Regions from separate parts of the Homo sapiens genome. Here all the other regions are linked to region 3. Evidence: promoter capture Hi-C in 16 types of primary human blood cells and fetal thymus (Javierre and others, 2016). All regions are on one chromosome and are shown on one strand. The core of a region is centred on a gene start or on the middle of the fragment in contact, and the rest is flanking DNA. Distances in the headings are between cores, read along the strand shown.

Region 1 (3,147 bases), core at 219-2,718, 530 kb before region 3:
TAATCCCAGCACGTTGGGAGGCTGAGGCGGATGGATCACCTGAGGTCAGGAGTTCGAGACCAGCTAGACCAACATGGAGAAACCCCATCTCTACTAAACATACAAAGTTAGCCAGGCGTGGTGGCGCATGCCTGTAATTCCAGCTACACAGGAGGCGGAGGCAAGGGAATCTCTTGAACACGAGAGGTGGAGGTTGCAGTGAGCTGAGATTGAGCCATTATACTCCAGCCTGGGCAACAAGAGAGAAACTCCACCTCAAAATAAATAAATAAATAAAAGTTTACCAATACTTTGAAACCATCTTTTCTTTATATCATATATATAGTTCTTATCTTTAGCCATTGTACCCCTAGTGGTTACACACTCAAAATTGATAAGATCGTTTTCTCCTGGGTTGTCATCACTTTCTGGTAATCATTTGCTCTTATTGATGACTTGGTTGTACCTTTGAAGCAAGGCCCATGGTTAAAGTTCATGTCGTTTCTTCTAGCCCTTGTTCCATTCTGATAGATAGGTGTTAAGAATGGACCCAAGCAAGTCTGGGTACGGTGGCTCACGCCTGTAATCCCAGCACTTTCAGAGGCCGAGACAGGTGGATCATGAGGTCAGGAGTTCAAGACCAGCCTGACCAACATAGTGAAACCCCATCTCTACCGAAAATATAAAAATTAGCTGGGTGCGGTGGTGGGCGCCTGTAATCCCAGCTACTCAGGAGGCTGAGGCAGGAGAATTGCTTGAACCCAGGAGGCAGAGGTTGCAGTCAGTTGCGCCACTGCACCCCGGCCTGGGCGACAGAGCAAGACTCTGTTTAAAAAAATAAAATAAAATAATGAACTCAACTCAATTTGGCCATTTGCAATTACTGAGTTCTTTTTTGCCATAAGTAGCCATATATATTTAGGGGTATAGGAGGGATGTAAGGATCTTAGCCACAACTTTGCTAACGGATTTATAAAGAGAGCAAATCTCAGACTAAATTCTGCTACATATGCAGACATTTGTTAGCAAACTGGCATGAAACAGAGAAACAAAAATTACAAACTTGTTTTGTAAGCTCAATGAAGGCCCAACTTTGTCCTTCAAATGTGCTCATCACGACTTGCACGAAAAGTTCATTGTAACCAACACAACAGAGATGAATTCAGTTACTTTATAGATGACAGGCAATAGGAATTCTCCAAATTAGTGGCTGATATGGTTTGGGTTTGTGTCCCTGCCCAAATCTCATGTTGAGTTGTCATCCCCAATGTTGAAGGAGAAGCTTAGTGGGAGGTGACTGGATCATGGGGTTGGATTTCCCCTTATTTTCTTCTGATAGTGAGTGAGTTCTCATGAGATCTGGTTGTTTAAACGTGTGTAGCACCTCCCCCTTCGCCCTTTTCCTCCTTCTTCAGCCATGTAAGACATGCCTGCTTCCCCTTCTCCTTCTGCCAGGATTGTAAATTTCCTGAGGCCTCCCAGCCATGCTTCCTATACAGTCTGCAGAACTGTGAGTCAGTTAAACCTTTTTTCTTTATGGGGGGTTGAGTGAGAAAATTAACTTATGCCTTAAAACTTTTTATAATTTTATTTCATGGAATGGAATTAAATTACCCAGTCTAAGGTAGTTCTGTATAGCAATGTGAGAATGGACTAATATAGGGGTGGAATACAAACTTTATCAGAATAAAGCTTCATACCACTCCAAAGATGACCCTTTTAATGCAAAGGTGAGGATTGTTTCTGTATTTCTGCTTATTGACACAACTTTCTATATATATCTACACTTACATCTTGAACACCACTAATTTCATCAACAAAACCTATTTCTAGCATCCCAAATGCTAATTACAAAACTCTGTGTTGATCAGAGCTAAAGTGGATGTTGTAGTCACCTTTGGAATTTGGCCTTTTTTTGTTTTTTTGTTTTTTTGTTTTTTGAGACAGGAATGTGGCCTTTCATTAAATGTTAGCTAACTATTGCTGAAACACATATTCCTAATTAGGACACAAACCAGTCTTAGAGTGTAGATTTAAACAAACACACACACTGATATCACATTGTTTATGCTAGAAACTGGCATTTGGGAAAAAAAAAAAACTACAGTCAACTTAGAATGGGTCATAAGCAAAGCCCCAGTTCATTTGTCTGCCTGCATGACTTGCATTGCATTGTTCCCAAGATGACACCAGGAGGAATTTTGTAAATAATAAAATGATACTTTTATTTCCTTATTGTGCTTAGTGTACTTGTTTCTGAAAGTGACAGTGTGAGAAAATCCTAAGCAGAGAAGTAAGACAGAAGTGAGGGGGAATCCTAACCAGTGGTGACAGCAAAAAAGGTGACAACGTCAGAGATGGATTGGGGCCCCTAAGGCAGAAGTCGGTTTCTCAACTTAGTCCAGGCATTGGTCAGTCCAGGATTAGATGTCCTCACAAGTACGCTTTCTGGTAATAGGCATCATTTCCCCCACTCATCTTTCAGTCCCTCTTCACAGGAAAATCAAGACTTTACAATGGACATGGAGTACCATAGTTCACACAAATAAAACTATGCTAAAAATACGTGGAAGAAGAAGGCTGGGCACAGTGGCTCATGCCTGTAATCCTAGCACTTTGGGAGGCCAAGGTGGGCAGATCACCTGAGGTTAGGAGTTTGAGACCAGCCTGGCCAAACCCCATCTCTACTAAAAATACAAAAATTAGCTGAGTCAGGTGGCATGTGCCTATGATCCCAGCTACTCCAGAGGCTGAGGCAGGAGAATTGCTTGAACCTGGGAGGCGGAGGTTGCAGTGAGCCAAGATCACGCCACTGCACTCCAGCCTGGGCAACAGAATGAGACTCCATCTCAAAAAAATATATATATGTATAATATATATATATTTATATATAAATATTTTATATATATTATATATAATATATACTATATATTATATATAATATATAGTATATAATATATAGTATATAATATATATTTATATAATATATAGTATATATTATATATATATTTATATAATATATGATATATTATATATATAATTATTATTTTTATATTATATTATTATATTATATATTATATATATTTTATATATATATTTAAATATATATATTTTATATATATATTTAAATATATATAATATATTTTATATATATATTTAATATATATA
Region 2 (3,252 bases), core at 521-3,020, 610 kb before region 3:
AAATTCAACAACTCATGACTGTAAAACAAAAACGAAACAAGAAACAAGTTTAGTAAACTAAGAATTGGGTGAAAGTTTCCTTTATCTGAGATAAGTAGGATGCTATAAACACCCTACAGCATAAATAATGTTTACTGACAATCCATTAAAAGCTTTGTGTTCAGGAACTACAGGAACATACCTACTATCATCACTTTTTTTTTAATTTGACACTGCAATAAAGATGCTAATCAACAAAGGAGGGAAAGAAAAAGAAATAAAGGGTATAAGGATTTAAAATGAACCAGTCGTTATTCACAGATGATATGTTTACATACATAAAAACTTCAAAAGGATTTACAGATAAAACATGTGAATTATTAAGACTGAGTTTAGCAAGGATGAAAAGTAAAAAACATCAATATAGAGATGTTCCTCAACTTACAATAAGGTTACGTCCCAATAAACCCATTGTAAATTTAAAATATAGTTAAGCCAAAAGTGCATTTCTATCATATGTCAAGAAACATACCAAATGTGTATTGCCTTCACACCATCATAAAGTCAAAAAATTGTCCTAAGTTGAACCACCATAAGTCAGGGACATCCATAACAAGCATAAGTCACCAACAGGTAACAACAGGTAACACAAATACTTAATGGTAAAAGACTAAATGCTTCCCCTTTAAGATCAGAAACAAAGAAATGATGTCTACTCCCAGCACTTTTATTCAATATAATGCTAGAAGCCCTAGGCAGCACACAAAGAAACAGAAAATAAAAAGCATACATATTGGAAAAGAAACTGTCCCTACATCCAGACAACATGATTATCTACACAGAAGATGCCAAAGGAATCTACAAAAAATAAACTACTAGTTCATCGACGTTCCAGGATACAAGATTAACATCCAAAAATCTGTGTTCCTCCTGTGCATAGTCATACATCACTTAATGATGGGATACATTCTAATAAATACGTTGTTGGGGAATTTTATTGTTGTGCAAACATCATACAGTGTACTTACACAAACCTAAATGGAACAGACTACTACATACCTAGGCTATATGGTATAGCCTATTGCTTCTAGGCTACAAACCTGTACAGTATGTTACTGTACTGAATACTGTACACAACCGTAACACAATGGTAAGTATCTGTGTATCTAAATGTATCTAAACATAGAAAAGATACAGTACAAATACAGTATTATAAGCTTATGGAACCACCATCATATATGCAGTCCATCACTGACAGAAAAGTTGTGTGGTACGCAACTGTATATGAAAAAAAGTGGTAGCGATAACAGGAAAGAGCAGAGAGAATACAATAAAAAGTTCTGAAGACACTTTCATATCTAAGTTTTTTAAAAAGGACACTGTACCTATATTTCACACCATATACAAAATGAATTCGAGGTACAGTAACAACTTAAATATAAAGGCAAAGTGTTAAAAGCTTTTAGAATATGATAAAAGAGAATAGCTGCATGACTTCAGGTTAGGAAAAACACTAGCAAGAACCAAGTTCATAGTTACATTCCTTCAACCAAAGAAGATACTCAGCCAATGCCTAGGACAAAGCACTCCAGGGAAAGATTGATAAATGGATTGATAAATGTGATAAGCTTCTCTTCCACTGAGTCTGGAGTGGAAGAAAGTCTCTCTGCCTTATTTCAGAGACAAAAGCTGTTCATGATTCATAAAAACAAATACATGAATATGGCCACAGACCACAGCTATACAATGTAGACAGAGTGACCTTGTAAAATATACTCATCCATGTAACCAAAAATTTATCAAGCACCTCATATGCAGAACACAACAGCAGAAACTACAGAGCAAAACACGTAAAATGGGTCTCAAAATCCATGAAGAGAAACAGACATTCCCCTAAATAAGTGAATCACAGTTGATTCTGAAATTATCCTAACAGAAATAAACAACAAGCTTGGAAAAAATAAGACTGAAAGAAAAACCACTTTTGTAAGTGGACAGGGGTAAAGTGGTAATAATACACAGAATAAAAAGACAGAAAAAAACATTCTGAATAAATCTCAGAGAGCAAATTTCAGTTACTGGACCAGAAGTATGACTGAAGGAAAAGGTGGAAGGAAGTAAAGGGAGCTAAGACGGAAAAAATAAAGAGACAACAAAGAGGGAGGTTACTCAATTTGCACTTCAGTCTTATGAACAGCATTGTAAGGAGAGGTTTGAAACACCTCTGTGAATATACACAGGTTGTTTTTCCTATGAGTAAAACATACTGGCCCTTGTCTACTAAGCAAACTCTATAGACCTTAAAGTCTCATTTTAACTTTTTCTGACCTCAACCAGGCAGAGCTAGGCTCCTCCCCTACAGCTAGTCACACTTTGAACCTACTACAATTAGCAATTATCACATTGTATCTATTGTACTTATTTCTATCTTTGTCTCTCCCACTAGACTGTAAGCTCCTTAAGAAAAGTAGCATATAACATTTATGCTAGCATCTATCTGCTAGCATCTATCGCAAATAGCTACTATCAGTAGTAGGCACTCAGGAAATAATGAATGAATGAACGACCAGAACTATTCGAAGAAATTATGGTTACAGCAAAAAGTAGAGCTAGACACAGGAGAAATTAAAACAAGTTAGAAAACTACTGCAAAATTCCAAGAAAGAAGTAATGAGGAACTGACTGTAGGCAATGACTACAAAACAAGAAAACTGATTCAACGACTTACGAATGATTATACCAGAGAAGCAGAACATGATTATAAGATTCGAAACCTTTGTTCCTAGAAGGCCATTTATTTAAATATTTATTGAGAATTTGCTTGGTGCAATACACTAAGTACTAGGAATACAATGATGAGCAAATGTACAAGAAAGAGCTCTGCCCTCGTTGTAATGGAGATGGGGGAAAACCCAGAGAGAGAGATTAAGTCTTGGGAAAAATAAAGTTTGCTCTAGAAGGCAACTGTAGATTATACATCTAAAGTTCTAGAAAAAAAGTGTAAAATGAGAAAATATTTTTAGAACAATTTATTGTTCATGCTTTATGGGTTTACAAGATGAGTAAAGAAAATGAGTAGGGTGAGCTGAGATACCAACACTAAACCTTAATGAAATACCTATAGTGATTGGGGTGGTGGGAGCCCACAGGGGAGATAAAGAAGGAAAACAGAAGAAAGTCAAGAAAATGGCTTTAGAAAAATGAGAGTAATTGTTACAAAAATCTACGGAAAAAATGTTTGAAGATGAAGGGACGATATATAGTGATATTACA
Region 3 (3,131 bases), core at 387-2,886:
TTCATTAATCAAAGAGCAGATAGACAAAGGAAGATTCATCCTTGAGTGTAAAGTATTATAAAAATAATGAGTCCAAGTTAAATGATTTATAGCTATGACAAGTAAAGAATGCTGTTTGGGCAACAGTATTACTCCCAAATGGCTTCCCACTTGTAGAAAAACAGCTTCAGACAAGCCCCATAGTGTATACAGTGGTGCAAAATGACCTGGAAAAAATGGTTTCTATGGATATCATTTAGAGATGCACATCCCTGAATACCTTAAGGCTGAAGGTACTTTAGCTCTTTTCCTCAAAGCAATTGCAGCACAGGTTCTCCTGCCCAGGTTTTGTTTATATAAGAACAATCTTGGCCACAGGTCATTTGTGTAGGAGACAATTAATCACTAGCTCTTTGAGCACAGGTAGGTTAATCAGTATGCACATAATACAATATTAAAATTTTCACGGGGAAAAAATTTTTTTATTTAAAACAATAAAGCATCAGTAATACCTGCTGATCTTTTATCCAAAGCAAGTACAAAGGCTGTTAGTGAAATAGAGAAGACTTTCTTTTTAAACAGTTCGGAAAATACAAGGCATCATTGATCACCTGAAGGCCTCATTTTAATTTGATTCCAGATCCACGGCAGCTTAGAGGTTGTCTTTTTGAAATAGCGTATTGCTAAAATCCTTATGTAGGTCAGAAATGGAACTTCAGGAGCCATCATATTCTGCTATCCTAATAAATAATTAGGGTCAGAACCTCACTTGTTTATGTTTCAAAAAAGCACAATATTTGGACTATAGCAAACATCAGGATTTTTAAAAATTCAAATATTAAATGGCATTCAGAACATCATCCACATGGAAGAGGGAGAGATGAAATAAATCTGCAGATGCCTCTATATACAAAAAGGATGTCCTAGGTTTTGGACTATTAAATACTTTTCTTTCTTCAGACAATACCCTAAAAAAACAATTACAAAGTACTCTGAAACCCTGCCACACCCCTTTGATTAAATCACACTTCACAAAATATTTAGAGAAAGCCTGAACAAATCAAATAAACATCAAGGCAGGAAATGCAGCCAGGAATGCCTGATCCTGAGCTCCCCCAGAGTCTGAAGGGCTGCCTCACTTGAAAATTTAATCAAACACAATCTACTGTAATTCCATTGCAGCCTTTGCACTTAAGGAAAGCTAGTTCAGTCTCTGACATTTTGATTTTCACAGCAGATGGGAGCAAAAAAAGAAAGAAAGAAAGAAAGAAAAAGAAAGAAAGAAAGAAAGAAAGAGAAAAGAAAAGAAAAGAAAAAAAGAAAAACTTCCGCGGCTCACAAACATATGTGTCCAGTTGAGATTTTCTGTCTCCAGCCTTATGCAACATCCAGCAAACAAACAAACAAAAAGGTTATTTTCTATTACTCACTATTACTCCAGGATTTCAGTAAATATTTGATACTGATCTCAAAGAAGCCCGAATCCTGCTGGCTGGCCATGTCTGCGGCATACAAAGAGGCTGGGAGGACGGGCAGCGGCCGGGAGCAGGTACCGGGCGTGATGCGCCTGTCACAGGTTGTGATGTCAGCGCGGGGTCAGGCGCCCAGAGGCAGCTCTGCGGATCCACCTCCGGCTCCGGCCGGGAGTGCTCATCTAAAGGACACGGCGGAGCAGAGAGAGATGCTCGGCCGCTCCTCCTCCTCCGGGTCCAGGACTTGCTTCTTATTTGCTGGACGCTGATCTCCCTGCAGCCCTCGGAGGCGGCGGCCGCGCTGCTTTCATTTCGGGGCTGTCATCACCAGAAACGCCGGCTGCCGGCCGCCCACCAGCTCGGCTCCAGCCAGGTACGCAACCGAGGAAGACCCCACCTGAACTGGGATCGGCTTTCTTCTGGGAGGGAGGGTTTCTAGGCCGGCCTCCCTGACGCGGTGCAGGCAGCCTCCGGCCCACACGGCCGCCGCGGGGCTAAGGGATGGGCCGGGAGCGCCGCCCCCTGCCCCTGCCCACTGTCTCAACCTGAGCCGCGGCTCAGTCTCCGCCTAGGCTGCGGGAGGAATTTCCCAGCTTCTGCGGATCCTCTCTCTTCAGCAAGGCTTCCCGTGAGCGGCCCGGGTGTGCTCTGGCTGCTGCTTCCCCTTGTGTCTGTCCCTGAAATAAACACAACTGCAGCACGCTGCGGTAAGCAAAGCTGCAGCCTTGCATCTGGTTGCAGCGACGTTTTGAAAAACCCCATCCGTCAGCCTCGTTGCAGTAAAGAGACTCAACAAGAGGACGCTTGTCTGGGCTTTTTCTTCCCTGCCTTCCACACGCATGGTGGTATCTGCATTTTTACTTTTCCCTCCCAGAAATGCAGTCTTTTCAAGGGGCATCGGAGCCCGAACGTGTGCACTCTAAGGGGACAGTACACACTGCTTAGTTGGCTTGTTTTTGTAATGTCACACACTCCACAATGGATCTTATTCTCAAACCTCTCATTTCTAAGACTCACTAAGCCCAGTGAAGCTTATTTTATTTGTATGAAAAGGATAAGAAGCAAAAGCATTAGATTCCTTGCTCTACAATGGCTCTTGATTTCATGAATTCTTGATATCAGGTGTCCTGATTTTGGTTAGCTTTGTTTCACATTATCATTTAGCTTGACCAGGGGATTAAATAAGAGTATTATATTTTAATAATGACAGGTTATGTTGGAAGAGGTGGGATTTGGCCAACTATCTCATAAACCACAGGATCCTTCCCAAGTCCCAGTACATTCATGATTAATGTTGTCTAAAAAACAGAAAAAAGTAATAAACCATGTTAATAAGTATTTAACATAGCAAATGTTGGGCTAACTCCCCAAATCAACACACAAACAGGACTTCCTAGATTAACAGTTCATTTTAAAAATGGAAGGGAAAGACTACAATGTACTTTTATTGTTAGGACAAAGAATTTTTAAAATTCAACACTAAATAAAACTTCTAGAACTATGTTCTGAAAGGCCCTAAGATACTTCATCAATACAATTAGTTTTTCAAACTCATTACACTTACCCAAATGGCAAGCACTCAATCACTCAGATTTCCAACTCCACTTATACACTTTATTCTGATGAAATCTCTCACCAGATTGACTTCTTTTTAATTCATGTGCATACTAGAGTTGCTGA

The links. The method cuts DNA at HindIII sites, captures the fragments that hold promoters and counts their contacts. A CHiCAGO score of 5 or more calls a contact.
Region 1: a fragment that was not itself captured here is called in contact with the fragment with the promoter of FRY-AS1 in region 3 in 1 of 17 cell types (endothelial precursors); the score reaches 5.7 in endothelial precursors.
Region 2: a fragment that was not itself captured here is called in contact with the fragment with the promoter of FRY-AS1 in region 3 in 1 of 17 cell types (fetal thymus); the score reaches 5.1 in fetal thymus.

What each region holds. Positions count from the first base shown.
Region 1 is chr13:32,564,669-32,567,815 of GRCh38, reverse strand. No RefSeq gene overlaps it. Among named protein-coding and RNA genes, the nearest start is that of PDS5B-DT, 20 kb to the left of the region's middle. The HindIII fragment of the contact is 410 bases long and covers 1,264-1,673 here.
Region 2 is chr13:32,641,534-32,644,785 of GRCh38, reverse strand. All of the region lies in intron 1 of PDS5B (PDS5 cohesin associated factor B), which reads right to left. Among named protein-coding and RNA genes, the nearest start is that of PDS5B, 57 kb to the right of the region's middle. The HindIII fragment of the contact is 322 bases long and covers 1,610-1,931 here.
Region 3 is chr13:32,030,144-32,033,274 of GRCh38, reverse strand. FRY-AS1 (FRY antisense RNA 1) reads left to right here and starts at 1,636. Exons shown (of 4, transcript NR_103839.1): 1 at 1,636-1,824. It overlaps FRY (FRY microtubule binding protein), which reads right to left and starts at 1,501. Exons shown (of 61, transcript NM_023037.3): 1 at 1,410-1,501. The coding sequence starts at 1,479. The HindIII fragment of the contact is 3,062 bases long and covers 1-2,484 here.